Linked DNA regions of Homo sapiens: regions 2, 3, 4 and 5 are each linked to region 1. The links are contacts of gene promoters, found by promoter capture Hi-C in blood cells and fetal thymus (Javierre and others, 2016). All regions are on one chromosome and are shown on one strand. The core of a region is centred on a gene start or on the middle of the fragment in contact, and the rest is flanking DNA. Distances in the headings are between cores, read along the strand shown.

What was found. Contacts are between HindIII fragments. The CHiCAGO score rates a contact against its expected background, and 5 or more counts as called.
Region 2: a contact is called between a fragment that was not itself captured here and the fragment with the promoter of CEBPG in region 1, in 1 of 17 cell types (monocytes). The highest score is 6.4, in monocytes.
Region 3: a contact is called between a fragment that was not itself captured here and the fragment with the promoter of CEBPG in region 1, in 2 of 17 cell types (M2 macrophages and endothelial precursors). The highest score is 6.6, in M2 macrophages.
Region 4: a contact is called between the fragment with the promoter of GPATCH1 here and the fragment with the promoter of CEBPG in region 1, in 5 of 17 cell types (neutrophils, activated CD4 T cells, naive CD8 T cells and 2 more). The highest score is 12.3, in neutrophils.
Region 5: a fragment that was not itself captured here is called in contact with the fragment with the promoter of CEBPG in region 1 in 1 of 17 cell types (neutrophils); the score reaches 7.6 in neutrophils.

Annotation. Positions count from the first base shown.
Region 1 is chr19:33,372,329-33,375,136 of GRCh38, reverse strand. CEBPG (CCAAT enhancer binding protein gamma) reads right to left here and starts at 1,428. Exons shown (of 2, transcript NM_001806.4): 1 at 1,242-1,428. RefSeq lists a silencer at 832-1,641. The HindIII fragment of the contact is 8,186 bases long and covers 1-2,808 here.
Region 2 is chr19:33,816,257-33,819,064 of GRCh38, reverse strand. No RefSeq gene overlaps it. Among named protein-coding and RNA genes, the nearest start is that of KCTD15, 21 kb to the right of the region's middle. The HindIII fragment of the contact is 3,637 bases long and covers 1-2,808 here.
Region 3 is chr19:33,768,054-33,770,861 of GRCh38, reverse strand. The region is part of intron 3 of CHST8 (carbohydrate sulfotransferase 8); the gene reads right to left. Among named protein-coding and RNA genes, the nearest start is that of KCTD15, 27 kb to the left of the region's middle. The HindIII fragment of the contact is 755 bases long and covers 1,038-1,792 here.
Region 4 is chr19:33,079,706-33,082,513 of GRCh38, reverse strand. It overlaps GPATCH1 (G-patch domain containing 1), which reads right to left and starts at 1,333. Exons shown (of 20, transcript NM_018025.3): 1 at 1,248-1,333. The coding sequence starts at 1,320. RefSeq lists an enhancer at 1,109-1,438. The HindIII fragment of the contact is 10,253 bases long and covers 1-2,808 here.
Region 5 is chr19:33,111,734-33,114,541 of GRCh38, reverse strand. GPATCH1 (G-patch domain containing 1) reads right to left here. Exons shown (of 20, transcript NM_018025.3): 12 at 2,640-2,808; 13 at 1,929-2,056; 14 at 639-775; 15 at 123-289. Among named protein-coding and RNA genes, the nearest start is that of WDR88, 19 kb to the left of the region's middle. The HindIII fragment of the contact is 1,130 bases long and covers 842-1,971 here.

The DNA.
Region 1 (2,808 bases), core at 179-2,678:
CAGCCAAGTGTGCCCACCAAAAGCAGGAATCAAGAAGCTGAAATATGCTTCAGCTCCCTTGTACCCTGTAATTATTTAGCCTTGTTTACAGCAACTTTTTCCAGAAGCAGAATCGACCTTATGAACAGCTTATCCCAAATACTACTCAAGGGCTAACAGATGACCACATCTTAAATATCAAGAGCTTCTAGGTGTAGAATGTCTTCGTAAAGCAAGCCCTTATAGGATTTTCTTTTAAAATTTTCTCTGGGAGTCACATTTCTTTGGGAGAAGTCTGCCTTAAGTGACAACCTATTCATATAAGCAGTCAATTCTGACACAACTACCAATTTTGGTGTCACCCATCAACATTGAGACCTTTCTAAATCTTATACATTTCAGGATGCCAGATTACAGTATAAACTTCAAACAAGAGGAAAACCCAACACGTAAACCTGCGGAAGAGAAGCAACACACCAGCTGCCCTGGAAAACACTCTCCTCCCCCCGCGACACATGCATTTCCATCCTTCGCATCTGGTCACCTCCGCTGGCTGTCGGCCCTGCTCCGCTCCCTCCAACTATGCCTGCGAAGTGCTTCATTTCTTCTCTATTCGACCCGTAGGTGTTGCGTGTTCTTCTAAACTACGTTCAACAGTAAAGTGCAGGACATTCCAACAGCTCCACAAAGAAGCAAAATATTATCTCTGCAAAGTCATGCATTTAAAAACCAGTTGCTTTCCCTATTTTATTGATCAGTCTTTGAACTTCTGAACAGATTTTCGATCACCGCAAGCTGAGCCCTTCTAGAAGATCAGGATTCTAAAGCTCGACTCGGTCCACCTTCTGCTATTCTGGGAACACCCTTCATCCCCAGGGGCCAATGCGAGCCTGGCGGGTCACAGCGCCCGTTTCACCGAGAGGGGGCCGGGCTCCGCAGGGGGCATTCCCCGGCCGTTCGCGCGCTCCCGGCCCGCCGCGAGGGGCGCCCCGGGCAGCGCGGGGGTCGACGGGCGGCGCCGCAGCGCTGGGCCGCGGCCAGGAATGAGCTCAGCGTCCCCGCCGGGTGTTGCCGGCAGGTTGCATCAGACGCCGCGCGGCGCCGCCGCCCGCGCCTCCAGCCTCGCGTGGCCTTCCCGGGCCAGCGGGCCGTCTGGGGCCGGGGCTGGGTTTCCCCGAGCCGGGCCCGCACCCAGTCGAGCGGCCGGCGTCGCCGCGGCCTCCTCCTCCCCGTTCTCAGGGCGCCCGCCGCAGCCTCCTTACCTGCTCCTCTAGCCCGCCTGCCCCCAGGCGGCCTCCACTCCGAGCGGCCCCGCGCGGTGCGGCCCGAGCCGACCCAGGCCTCACAGCCCGCGAGTCAGCGAGGAGGAGCGACGGTTACGAAACCGGCAGCCTCCGCCCGTTCCGCAGCCGCGGCCACCGGCTTCCCCTGCTCGCCGGGGCCGCGCGCGCCGCCGCCGCCATCCCGGCCAATGGGAGCGCCGGCCTGCCGGAGGCACCGCCTTCTCTCGCGACGGGCAGCCCAGTCGACCAATCGTGGGCAGGCTGGCGGCGGGAGGCGGGCCCACGGTGGGGGAGTGGGTTCCGCGCGGCTGGCTCGGCGGGTGTGGCGGGAGCAGGGAGCTGCTTGCTGCGGCGTCCGCGGTCCCTAGGCAGCTCGCCCGGGCTGGCGGCGGCCTAGTGCTGTGGACGACTCAAGTTCGAGTCGGAGGCTGAAAAGCCGTCACCTTGTGGAGGCCAGACGTGCCTTTGGAAGCATTTTCTGAGGTGGTTTTGTGAACCACCGGCGACTGTTTTGGTTTCGCCGCGTCCCTTGGAAGCCCCCGCGGCGTCCCTCACAGAGTTTCTGCGAACGGAACGCCCCGCAGGCGGGCGGGCTTTGTCGCCGCAAAAAGAGTGGAGGCTGACGCGGTGGCTCCCGCCTATAATCTCAGCGCCGAGGGAGGCCGAGGCGGGAGAATGGCTTGAGCCCAGGCGTTGGAGAACCAGCCTGGACAACATAGCGAGACCCCATCTCAGTTACTAATTTTTAAAAAATCGAATGAACCCAGATGTTTCACACATAGGATTAGCATTGATGTCACATGGGTGAAATCCATGTGCTGCAGGCTGTGCTTTGTTGTTAGGGTGAGATGAAGTGAATTTCTTAAAATGATTCTCTTTGGGTGCCTTCCAGGTGCATGGGTGCGAGGTGATCTCTGAAAATAAGCAGCGATCCAGTGTGACTTAAAACTCGCCAGGAGAACCCGAAAGCGTTTTTTTTTTTTTTTTTTTTGAGACGGAGTCTCGCTCTGTCGCCCAGGCTGGAGTGCAGTGGCGCAATCTCGGCTCACTGCAAGCTCCGCCTCCCGGGTTCACGCCATTCTCCTGCCTCAGCCTCCCAAGTAGCTGGGACTACAGGCGCCCGCCACTACGCCCGGCTAATTTTTTGTATTTTTTTAGTAGAGACGGGGTTTCACCGTTTTAGCCGGGATGGTCTCGATCTTCTGACCTCGTGATCCGCCCGCCTCGGCCTCCCAAAGTGCTGGGATTACAGGCGTGAGCCACCGCGCCTGGCCCCGAAAGCGTTTTAACACCAGGAAGCAGCAGCTCGCTGGGCGGAGGGCAGAACTCGCCTGATAGGTTTAATTGCTTCCTCTTTAGCAACGCGTATCGTTCAAACAATTGAGGCTTTGAAAGAGGAAATGTTTCTTCAGCGCCCATGGAACCGGCTCGCCCCGTAAGATTGTTTCGAGGAATCAGTAAGATGATAAAGCAATAAATAAAAATTAAAAGGGGTCACAACGGTGAACAATGGGCTGGGCGCGGTGGCTCAGGTCTGTAATCCCAG
Region 2 (2,808 bases), core at 92-2,591, 440 kb before region 1:
GAGAAGAAAAAAAGTGAACAATTCCTGTGCATAAACAAATGTCTGCTCCAAGCCTCATGAGCTATCTTGCCCTCCCAAGCACCTGCAGTGCTTGGCATATGCTGGCCACCAATAAGTGGTGCTCTTGGGTGGTTGTGAAGATAAGGATCTTTGCAGGGAAGCAGGGACCCTTTAAAAATCAACATCCAAAGCCTCAACAGATACATCAGCGCCCCTTTCCAAATCATGACTTTTCCTCAAAAAGCAAAAACTCTACTCAACATATCCTTCCACTGGGGGTGGAGATAAAAACACAGAAAGTTCTCTTTCCCTGAGGGTAAACAGCTACCAACAGTCAGTCATGCCTGGATGCACAACCTCAGGGGTGGGCCCCTCCTGGATGCACAACCTCAGGGGTGGGCCCCTCCCCAGGAACGAGCCCCCAACTCTGCCTGCAGTTCCTAGGTCTGCAGAGGTCACCATGGGCCTGGCAGGGCTCTGCTTGTCTAGCTTTGGGGCTTGCAGGAAGAGAGCTCCTGAACCAGATCCAGGGATTAGCCTGGGATGTGGCGGGGTAGGCTTCTCTGGGGCTGGGGTTTCCCTTCCAATGAAAGCTCACAGAGAAATGTCCCTGGGCTTACAGAGGCCATGGCTGCGAGAACTCGCTGGTTGTGAGATCCAGAAAGAGCAGAGACGCGCTCTTCTTTTCTGACTTTCAACCTTCCCTGGGGTTGTGTTCCATTTGGGTCACCTTAGAAAACTCTGGTGCTTCTAAGAGAACATCAGCGCTAGTCTTGGTGCTGGCAGGAAGCTGCCCTTAGCTGTCACCAACACTTTTTTCTTTCTGTTAGTCCACAAAGCATTACCTTACCTCACCGGTCCTCCAGAGAACATCGGGGCTGCCTAGAATGTGGTGACAGGAGTGAACTCTTAATGGAAAGGGGTTCTGGAGGGAATGTTTCTGTGCCTCTCTGCCCTAGTTGGTGAATTTAGCAGTTTAACCTAAATACAGTTGTTCCTGGATAGACCTTCCTCCAAGCAGGTGCTCTAGACCATCTTTTGTCTCGGGCTTTATGTTGGACGTTAGAGCTTTATCTTTGTGATGCCTTTGTAGGTTTCTCTGGATACTGACAAGAAACTTCATTTGATCTAATGAGAAACTTCTCACTAATAAAGGCAGGAGCTGCTTTTGACACATATGCATTAATATCATCTTTCTATTCTTACCATTTTTTTTTCCTGTTTTTGAGAAGGAGTCTCACTCTGTCACCCAGGCTGGAGTGCAGTGGTGAGACTTCGGCTCACTGCAACCTCTGCCTCCCAGGTTCAAGCGATTCTCCTGCCTCAGGCTCCCGAGTAGCTGGAACTACAGGCACGCACCGCCATGCCTGGCTAATTTTTGTATTTTTAGTAGAGACAGGGTTTCACCATGTTGGCCAGGCTGGTCTCGAACTCCTGACCTAAAATGATCCACCCACCTTGGCCTCCCAAAGTGCTGGGATTACAGGTGTGTGCCACTGCACCTGACCCTTTTCTTACCATTCATTCTAAGCAAATCCATTTGTAGAAAATTTTAAAATTTGTGGCAGTTAACGATGTGGGCTTTTACCCTATACAGTGACCCAGACTCTTCAGTGCAGGTAACTCCACATCAAATCTTCCATCAGAGATAAGACAGCTGCCAGCCCCTGATCTCCAGGTGAGGGCAAGCCCTCTCTCTACAAGGAAACTCCTCCTTTGGGCGGGGTTGGGGTGAGCAAAGAGAGCCACCCACATTCTCATCACACATGTGACAAGACCAATATTACTTGGCTGACTTGAGCCTTGTGGCTAAACACATTGCCTACCCCCCTTGAGATGGCCATCAACCTGTGACATCCTACTTCCTACAACAGCTACATCAGCCCAGATGTCAGACTCCATCCAGGCCAGCGGCTGCCTTCTCTGGCCATCAGTTGTCCCTCTAGCTCTGTCTAGACCTCCCTATTGTTTTGAACTGAGGCAGATTTCCTGCCTCCAACTGAATATCCCCTGGCAGTTTCCCATTTTTGTATTTTCCACCTTGTCATCTACTTAGGAGAAATTGAGTATCTTCCAGGGCCAATGCAGCCATTTTCCTGTCTCTGGAGAATCAGGAGGGAAGGCAGGGCTTGATGGGATGGGGCCATCTTGGCAGACAGCATTGCCTCGAGAACATGGGTTGGCCTCTAGGGAGGGGAAGTGGGCAGGCTCTGCTAGGCTTAGTCAAGTTAAATATTATCTTGGTCAGTGGCTCAATGGATATAGTTTCCCCATTTCTCACATCTGTGCTTCCCTTTTTTTTTAATTAATTATTTTTTTATTTTAAGATGGAGCCTCGCTCTGTCGCCAGGCTAGAGTGCAGTGGTGCGATCTCGGCTCACTGCGACTTCTGCCTCCCGGGTTCAAGCGATTCTCGTGCCCCAGCCTCCCGAGTAGCTGGGACTACAGGCACATGCCAGCACACCCAGCTAATCCTTTTTTTTTTGTATTTTTAGTAGAGACGGGGTTTTGCCATGTTGGCCAGGCTGGTCTTGAACTCATGACCTCAGGGGATCCACCCACCTTGGCCCCAAAGTGCTGGCATTACAGGTGTGAGCCACCACACCCAGCCATGCTTTCTCTTTTTAATTTTATTTATTTTGAGACGGGGCTTGCTCTGTTGTCTAGGCTGGAGTGCAGTGGTGTGAACATGGCTCACTGCAGCCTCAACCTCCTGAACTCAAGTGATCCTCCCACCTCAGCCTCCTGAGTAGCTGGGACTATAGGCACATGCCACCATGAGTGGCTTATTTTTAAATTCTTTTGTAG
Region 3 (2,808 bases), core at 166-2,665, 400 kb before region 1:
CTAACCTGGGCATTTGCTTTGTGATCTTGGCCTTCTCAGCTGGCTCTGGAGTTCTGGGGTGAGCTAAGCATATCTTGCTCGCCCTGGTCTCCCCCAAAGCCCTAAGCAGCGCCCAGGTAGAGGGTAATTGTCCAGCGTTAACTTACTGATGACCTCAGGAAGACACAGAGAGACCAGTGCATCAATGGCCATGCTCTGGAACGCCCCCTCTGCCTACCAAGGAGGCCCATGCCTGGGCTGGGCTCACCTAAGAAGCAAGCTCTGGTGAGGTGAACCTTTGGCCAGAGCAGAATATTCTGTGTCATACCTCATTTGGTCTGCTTTGGGGGAAAGTCGCAGGAGGACAAGGAGATTCCCTTTGGGGGGAATCTATTTAGAAGCTGGAGCCTCCTTCCCCAGTCCCTACCTGGCCACCGAGGAATCAGGGGCTCTTTCTGCTCCAGTACCATGTGGGTGGACATTTTCGTCCTGAGGCTCTGCCAAAAGCCATGGTCACCATCAGAGCCAGCTATCCCTTAAGGAGAGAGCTGGATCTTCTGGCTGGCGCGCCGGGGCACCATGCCCGACCACACCTGAGCAAATCCTGGCTGCTGCCTGCGGGAGGGGGGTTCCAGTGTCCCACCACTTTCCTGGCTGTCTCCACGTCCTGGGCAGAGGTCCAGTGGCAGGAGCCCAGCTGGTGAAGGGATCTCCAGGTCTTCCCTGAGCCAGAGATTCTGTGGATTTCTCCATGAGGTCCAGTTTTACAGACTCAGCCACTGCCATGCCCCAGACAATGTAAGGCTGAGGCCGTGCCCGCACGTCTCCTTCAGTCATTAGCAGGCCAGGAAGGAGATGCAAGGTCAGCCCTGGAATGGACAGCCTGAATTCCCTGAGCTTGCCCGAACCTTCCTCAAGTCCCAAGAGAGGCAGAAATGCAGGCAGAACTGGGACACATTTCATCTTTCTTCCGCTTGTCCCTTTGGGCTGGGAACAAGGGTATGCTCTCCCCTGGGCAAAGGGCAGAGTGTCCCCATCTTCCTGGGCACTCCCAAGCTTATGTGCACATGCGTGCATGTGGGGGATCTTTGAAACAGGCCTTCTAGACTCTTCCCTGGAGACTGAGGGGAAGCTCCAAGTAGACCTGGCTGCACCCTTCAGGGTGTGGGGTGTAAGTAGCAGGTGCCTGGCCTGAGAGAGGAGTCTTTAGAATCAAGCTGCTCATTGCCACCCCCTGCCATGCCCAGAGTCTATTTCCCTCCTTGACAGCCACCCCCTCCTCTTCCCCATCCCATCATTACTGCAGCTGTCCCAGCACGAGCCTCCAGAGCTCCTTTCTCTCCCGCAGCCGATGATGACAGCTCCCTTCACTAGAAGGGACCCGCTGCACCACTTGGTTTTCCTCTACTCTGCCAGATTTCCTTAATTATTTTCTTCTGGTTATGGCAGCTGGCTCTGCTAAACCACCTCTCCTCCTCAGAGTCTCAGATATGGGAAATCACTCTGCTTGTCACTCCTGTCATCTCATCAAGGTGTGACGGTGCTTATATATTCCTTTTCTAAAGCAAATGAGTCATGCCAGATTTGGCCAAGAGTGGGGCTGAGAAGCCACTTCCAAAAGGGATCCTGCCAGTCGGGGGGAAGATGGAAGGCCATGTGCTTGTTGAGGTTGCAGCCCCTGAGGCCATGACCTCCCACTGGCACTGTCCCCACAGCCTCGGAGGGCAGTGGGCTGTGGTCCTGTTCCATTTTACCTGTGAGGACTGGACAGGGGGACACTGTCTCCTGGACCTCTGGACTCTGAGCCTAAGCTTCTGGGGCTGTCCCACTCTAATGCTCGCTGAGCTAGAGCCCTTGGCATTAACTAGAGGAAAAGTTCCTTCTAGACAAAGCCTGGGGCTGGGCGAGTCTCCTGATTTCCTGTTTACATGTGTCCATAAAGCCAACCTGCCTGCAACTTCCTCCTTTGAAAGGAAAAATTGCCTTGTGGAGAGTAAGAGAGATCAGTAACATCTTAAGTAGAGCCTGAGTTTGCCATAAGCTATTCCCAACCCTTAGACTTACGGCAGCTTATCAGGCAAAGATTAGACCTATCCCCACAAGCTCACTTTAACATTTTTAAAAATTTACTGCCGGGCACGGTGGCTCATGCCTGTCATCCCAGCACTTGGGAGGCTGAGATGGGCTGATCACTTGAGTCCGGGAGTTCGAGACTAGCCTGGCCAATATAGTGAAACCCGATCTCTACTAAAAATACAAAAAAATTAGCTGGGTGTGGTGGTGCATGCCTGTTATCCCAGCTACTCAGTAGGCTGAGACATGAAAATTACTTGAACCCAGGAGGCAGAGATTGCAGTGAGCTGAGATCACACCACTGCACTACAGCCTGAGCAACAGAGTGAGACTTTGTCTCAAAAAAATAAAATAAAATAAAGAAAAAGAAAAAAAATTTACATTTATTTTAGAAATAGTTAGAGATGGGGTCTTGCTATGTTGTCCAGGCTGGTCTCAAACACCTGGCCTCAAGAAATCCTCCTGCCTCGGCCTCCCAAAGGGCTGGAATTATAGGTGCGAGCCACCATACCTGGCTACAAGTTCACTTTCGAATAAAGAAGAAACGTAATGAAGGAAATCTAAAGGGACCTCCCCTTTGCCGTGAACCTAGTGTCCCCACTAGGAAGAAAACTGCTCTTCCATGCACCAGTCAGATAAAGGCTGAAGCAAAAACCACTGCTGGCTCTGGGCAAGTGAAAACCAGGAGAAACCTTAGGTATCCTGGGGCAGGGGTCTGCACATCCCCAAGTGGGCTGCACGTCAGGACCCTGGACA
Region 4 (2,808 bases), core at 84-2,583, 290 kb after region 1:
AGCAGAAGTTTCCACCAGAACTGTTTGTAGGAAATAAAGGGGGCATAAGTGGAGATATCCCAGAAGTACAATCAACCTGGCAGGATGTGGTCAGGGTGAAAAAAGGGAGGGGACCCCCACCAACAGGAGGTCTGCAAATAAATTGTGGCCCAATGATTCCACCATTCTTCCTCTGCCTTCCCTACAGGGCTAGCACAGCCAACAGCCCTTACTGGACACTCAATACATAACTTGCTGAACAAGTCAAGTCGTTAAGTGGAACAGACCAGAAACACAGGAGAGAACCTTGATTCATCTTGCCCCTCACCCCCACATTCCACCAGCAAGTATGGTCAGCTCTGCTTTCAAAATATATCTCCACCCAGACCACTACACACCACCACCACTGCTGTCCCATCCATGCCACCATCATCTCCTGACCTCTTTTTGCTAATCTCCCTGCTTCACTCTTACCCATCCCCAACCAGTGTATTCTCAACATCAAAGATAGAATAACATTAAAAATTGGCCGAGCACAGTGGCTCAAGCCTGTAATCCCTGCACTTTGGGAGGCAGAAGCGAGAGGATCACTTGAAGTCAGGAGTTCAAGACCAGCCTGGGAAACAGAGCAAAACCCTGTCTCTAAAAATCATATATATATCCCTCCCTGTGTAATTTCCCATGACCCTAACCCTAACCCTAATCCTGCACTTAGTACAAGATCCAAACTCTTTACCCTACCAAGTAAGATCCAGCCCCTGTCAGCCCCTCTGACATTCTTTTCTACCTGTCTCCCCCGCTGTCATCTGCTGCAACCATACCCGTCCTGCCTGCCCCTCAATTTCCTAAACTGGCTCCCACTTCAGGGCCTTTGCCACTTTATGTTCCTTCTGCCTGAAATGCTTTCCCTCCAGATTTGCTCATGGTTGTTTTCTTCCTCGGTTTCAAGTCTGAGCTCAAACGTCCTCTCTCGGGGAAGACACTGCCTGAGCACCCCCCGCTCTCACACTAGCTATTCCGTCATTTTCTTGTTTCTATCTCGCCGCCCCCTTGTTCGGCCACGCTTGTGTCTCCCGTCCCTGTAAACCTCTCTCTGTCGCTGCAGAAGGTGAGCACCCCGAGAGCGCGGCTAACGCCTCCCTCGTCGCCGTGTTCCCAGCGCTGGGAACGATCTAACAATGGTCCAGCACCGACTTGTGCTTTTGTGGCCCGAATCCTGGGCCCTTGGCCTGTTTTCCACAGGCTCCGCCGGCCCACGCGGCCCGCACCTTCTTCCAGAGGCTCCAGCCCGGTCCCATAGCTGACCAGATCTTCTTCGCTGTCACTGTCCCGCGCCGCCATCCTGCTCTTCCGGGCCCCGCCCCCTCGCTACGGCGGCCTTGGCAGGCCAAACGCCTTTCCTCTTTCTCCTCCGCGAACCCCGGTGATGCTGGAAGGCTGGGTCCGCGGGCGGGGGAAGGTGTCCTAGCGGCCCGAGCCTGCGCTCCGGATTCTCAGGCCCATCCTGTGGTAGGCCGTCCCAGGCAGGAGTTGCCTCGGAGGATTTGGCAGCCACGACATCCCATCCTAGCCCCGCGATGTGCGGGTGAGGAGGAGACTCCTGGCATAAGCTGGAAGCCACCCAACTGTTCCCTGCGAGGCGACACCGATGCCTGCCCAGCCCCCTACCCCCGTCCCTCGCGCCAGCCCCCTGCCTTGGCAGCAGTCACTGCCCAGCCCCGTCCACTCCCACCGCCCACCCAGCCACCTCCAGGGAAATGGCTGAGCTCCCAGATTTCATGCTCGCCCCGTGGGGCTTCGCTTTATTTTTATTATTATTATTTTTTACTTTTATTTTGGGTTCAGGGGTACATGTGCAAGTTTGTTATATAGGTAAATTGCATGTCGCAAGGGATTTGGGTTACAGATTATTTCCTCCCCAGGTAATAAGCATAGTACCCAATAGGTAGTTTTTCCGATCCTCACCCTCCTCGTACCTTCCACCCTCAAGTAGGTCCACCCTCAAGTAGGCCCTGGTGTTATTCCCTTTTTTTTTTTTTTTTTTTTTGAGACAGAGTCTCGCTCTGTCGCCCAGGCTGGAGTGCAGTGGCCGCGATCTCAGCTCACTGCAACCTCCGCCTCCCAGATTCAAGTGATTCTCCTGCCTCAGCCTCCTGATAGCTGGGATTATAAGCGTCCACCCCACCACGCCCTGCTAAATTTTTGTTTGTTTGGTTGGTTGGTTGTTGTGGTGGTTTTTTTTTTTTTTTTCTTGAGACAGAGTTTCACTCTTGTTGCCCAGGCTGGAGTGCAATGGCACGATCTCGGCTCACCTCAACCTCCGCCTCCCGGGTTCAAGCGATTCTCCTGCCTCAGCCTCCCTAGTAGGTGGGATTACAGGCATGCACCACTATGTCTGGCTAATTTTGTAATTTTTTTTTTAGTAGAGACGGGGTTTGTCCATGTTGGTCAGGCTGGTCTCGAACTCCCCACCTCAGGCGATCCATCCACCTTGGCCTCCCAAAGTGCTGGGATTACAGATGTGAGCCACCGCACCCGGCCATTTTTTTTTTTTTTTTTTTTTTTTTTTGTATTTTTAGTAGAGACTGGGTTTCACCATGTTGGCCAGGCTGGTCTTGAACTCCTGACCTCAAGTGATCCACCCGCCTCGGCCTCCCAAAATGCTGGTATTACAGGCGTGAGCCACTGCGCCTGGCACCTGTCATTCCCTTCTTTATGTCCATGTGTGCTCAATGTTTAGCTCCCACTTATACGTGAGAACATGCAGTATTTGGTTTTCTGTTCCTGCATTAGTTTGTTTAGGATAATGGCCTCCAGCTGCATCTATGT
Region 5 (2,808 bases), core at 157-2,656, 260 kb after region 1:
TAAGGGGAAATGGATCAATAGTTGGCTGCCTCTGCTGGTGAGTCACGAGGAGAAAGTGTCACCAAAGAGAAAAGCAAGGGCCACACTCAGCGTGGCAAAGAGAATCTGGAAGCCCCAAATACCTGATTTGCGGATAATTCTGGTGCATGCTCTTCCTCTTTGTTTACTAAGGGGCTGGACTGTTGTTTAGGTGGCTCGGCTTTTGATCTAGCCAAACTTAAAAATTCACTAATGGAATCTTCTTTCTTTTCGTGTTTAGAGGTATCCCATCTGGATGGTTTTCTTGATTCTGAAAGGCAGGACATAGATATAAACTCCAGCATTAGCAAGGAAAAGGCCAGTTCTTCACCACTGCTCTTTCATTCACTCAGAATGTCAGCGTGCCTACTAGGGGCCTGGCACTGTGTAGGGTCCTGGGGAGGTAGGTGGCAGAGGCAGAGACAGAGCCCCAACCCCAAAGAGTAAACATCTGGACCATTACAACATGAGCTAAGTTATTAGTAAGAGTAATTCCCTCAATGGAGGGAGAATATGCACCATTCACATTGTTAGGACTAAACTACCCTTTAATTCTGTCTTCCTACAGGCTAGGGGTTGAGGCCCTGGTCAATCAGAGACCCCGGGGACGCCCTACTCACTGTCGGGACCTCGGTGCTGTGATACTTTTTCACTTGATGCTTGAGTGGTGGGCAAGGAAGCTGTCTCTGGGAGCGTCAGAAAGTTGAAGACTGAGTACTTGTCACGCTTCACTCTTGGTAAGCCAACTAAAGTTGAACTGGGAATTGAAAAAAGAATCATTTTAGTAACAACCAGTAGGACAAAATCCACCTCCTGAAAAGCTTTCCATCTCAAGTTTTCCACCTCTTCTGCATGACTAAAAAGTCTCCTAAGATGCTTTCACTTCTCAAAGCAGTTCGAGAATCTGGGTGACTGATTTTAGGTCCCATGAGATTTTCCTTATTATGATAAGGACAAGAATTTAACTTTCAAAATGGATTTCCATTAAGGAAAAGCTCCACTGATAAAAATATACCTAAAGTTTCTGACAGTCTCTGGTTTGACCACATATGCTATCTTTTTGTTTTGTTTTTTTTTCTCTTGAGATTGAGTCTCGCCTTGTCACCCAGGCTAGAGTGCAATGGCACAATCTTGGCTCACTGCAACCTCCGCCTCCCAGGTTCAAGCAATTCTCCTGCATCAGCCTCCCAAATAGCTGGGACTATAGGCACGCACCACCACGCCCAGCTAATTTTTTGTATTTTTAGTAGAGACGGGGTTTCACCATGTTGGTCAGGCTGGTCTTGAACTCCTGACCTCAAGTGATCTGCCTGCCTCAGTCTCCCAAAATACAGGGATTACAGGCGTGAGCCATTGCACCCGGCCTACTATCTTGAAGTGTTCTGTTTGTTTGTTTGTTTGTTTGATTTTTTAGAGATGGGGTCTTACTATGTTACCCGGGCTGGCCTCGAACTCCTGGGCTCAAGCGATCCTCCTGCCTTGGCCTCCCAAGCTAGGATTACAAGTGTGCACCACCACACCCCACCTCTTGAAGTGTTATTAATCAAATAAGAAAGTGTTTAACTTTTATAATGATAATTTAAAAACATAAGTAACATTATAAATGTAAACCACATGAGCAGCAACAAGAAGGTGGCAAATGAGAGAGGCATAATGCTTTTGTAACTTGACATATCTGAGTTTCATAGCTTCAATATGGAATAAAGTTTGCTATCCAGATTTTGTTTTAGTAACAAATTATAGAAGTAATTTATCAAAGCAAATCTATAAAATGTGTAGATTTGTATATCCAGTGATATGCAAATAAGTTCATGTAGAAAAAATAAGAATTTATATGAGTATGTAAGGGGAAAATTAGCTTTAATATCAAGAATACATTTTGTACTGATGTAAAGGTTTATCCAACTTACTCTGGATAAGGGTCAGGGACATTAAATCTCTTACATAGAAGCTTGTCAGGGTGCCACTCAAACGTGTCTCGGGTGAGCTTCCCAAACATCTTCATCTTCACAGCCGACTGCTTATCCCCGACATCATTCTGGAAAAAGACATGCATTCTGTTCCATCAAGTGGCCGCACCACTGACCTGACTGCTCTCCCATTTAAAATTTTCAAGCAATCTTCTAGAACTGTGAAAAAAGTTTGTGCTATAACATTTATGCTCCAGTACATTGGAAACTAAGGCATAAAATGGTTTCCTATTCTCCTATACATGTATATTTTGATCTTCTCACCAAGGGATTAAAAATATTTGGCTCGGCCGGGCATGGTGGCTCATGCCTGTAATCCTAGTACTTTGAGAGGCCGAGGCGGGTGGATCACCTGAGGTCAGGAGTTCAAGACCAGCCTGGCCAATATGGTGAAACCCCATCTCTACTAAAAATACAAAAATTAGATGGCTGTTGTGGCGAGCGCCTGTAATCCCAGCTACTTGGAAGGCTGAGGCAGGAGAATCGCTTGAACCCAGGAAGCGGAGGCTGCAGTGAGCCGAGATCACACCACTGCACTCTAGCCTGGGCGACAGAGAGAGACTCCGTCTCAAAAAAAAGGAAAAAACTATTTTGGCTAGGCAGTGCTTTAATATTAAAGTTCACCAGGTAAGGGACATGGTGACAACAGACCTCTTGGTCTCGAGGGACTTCAACCTGATCTGAGTCATCCTCCTCCTTGGCGTGAGTGAACCTGGAGGACAAGGTCGAATGGGAAGATGCGTACAGCAGGGCCGCCCGGGCAAACTCATCCCGCTCACGGCCTCGCTCCCACTCTGTCATGCTGGGGTCCAGACAGCGT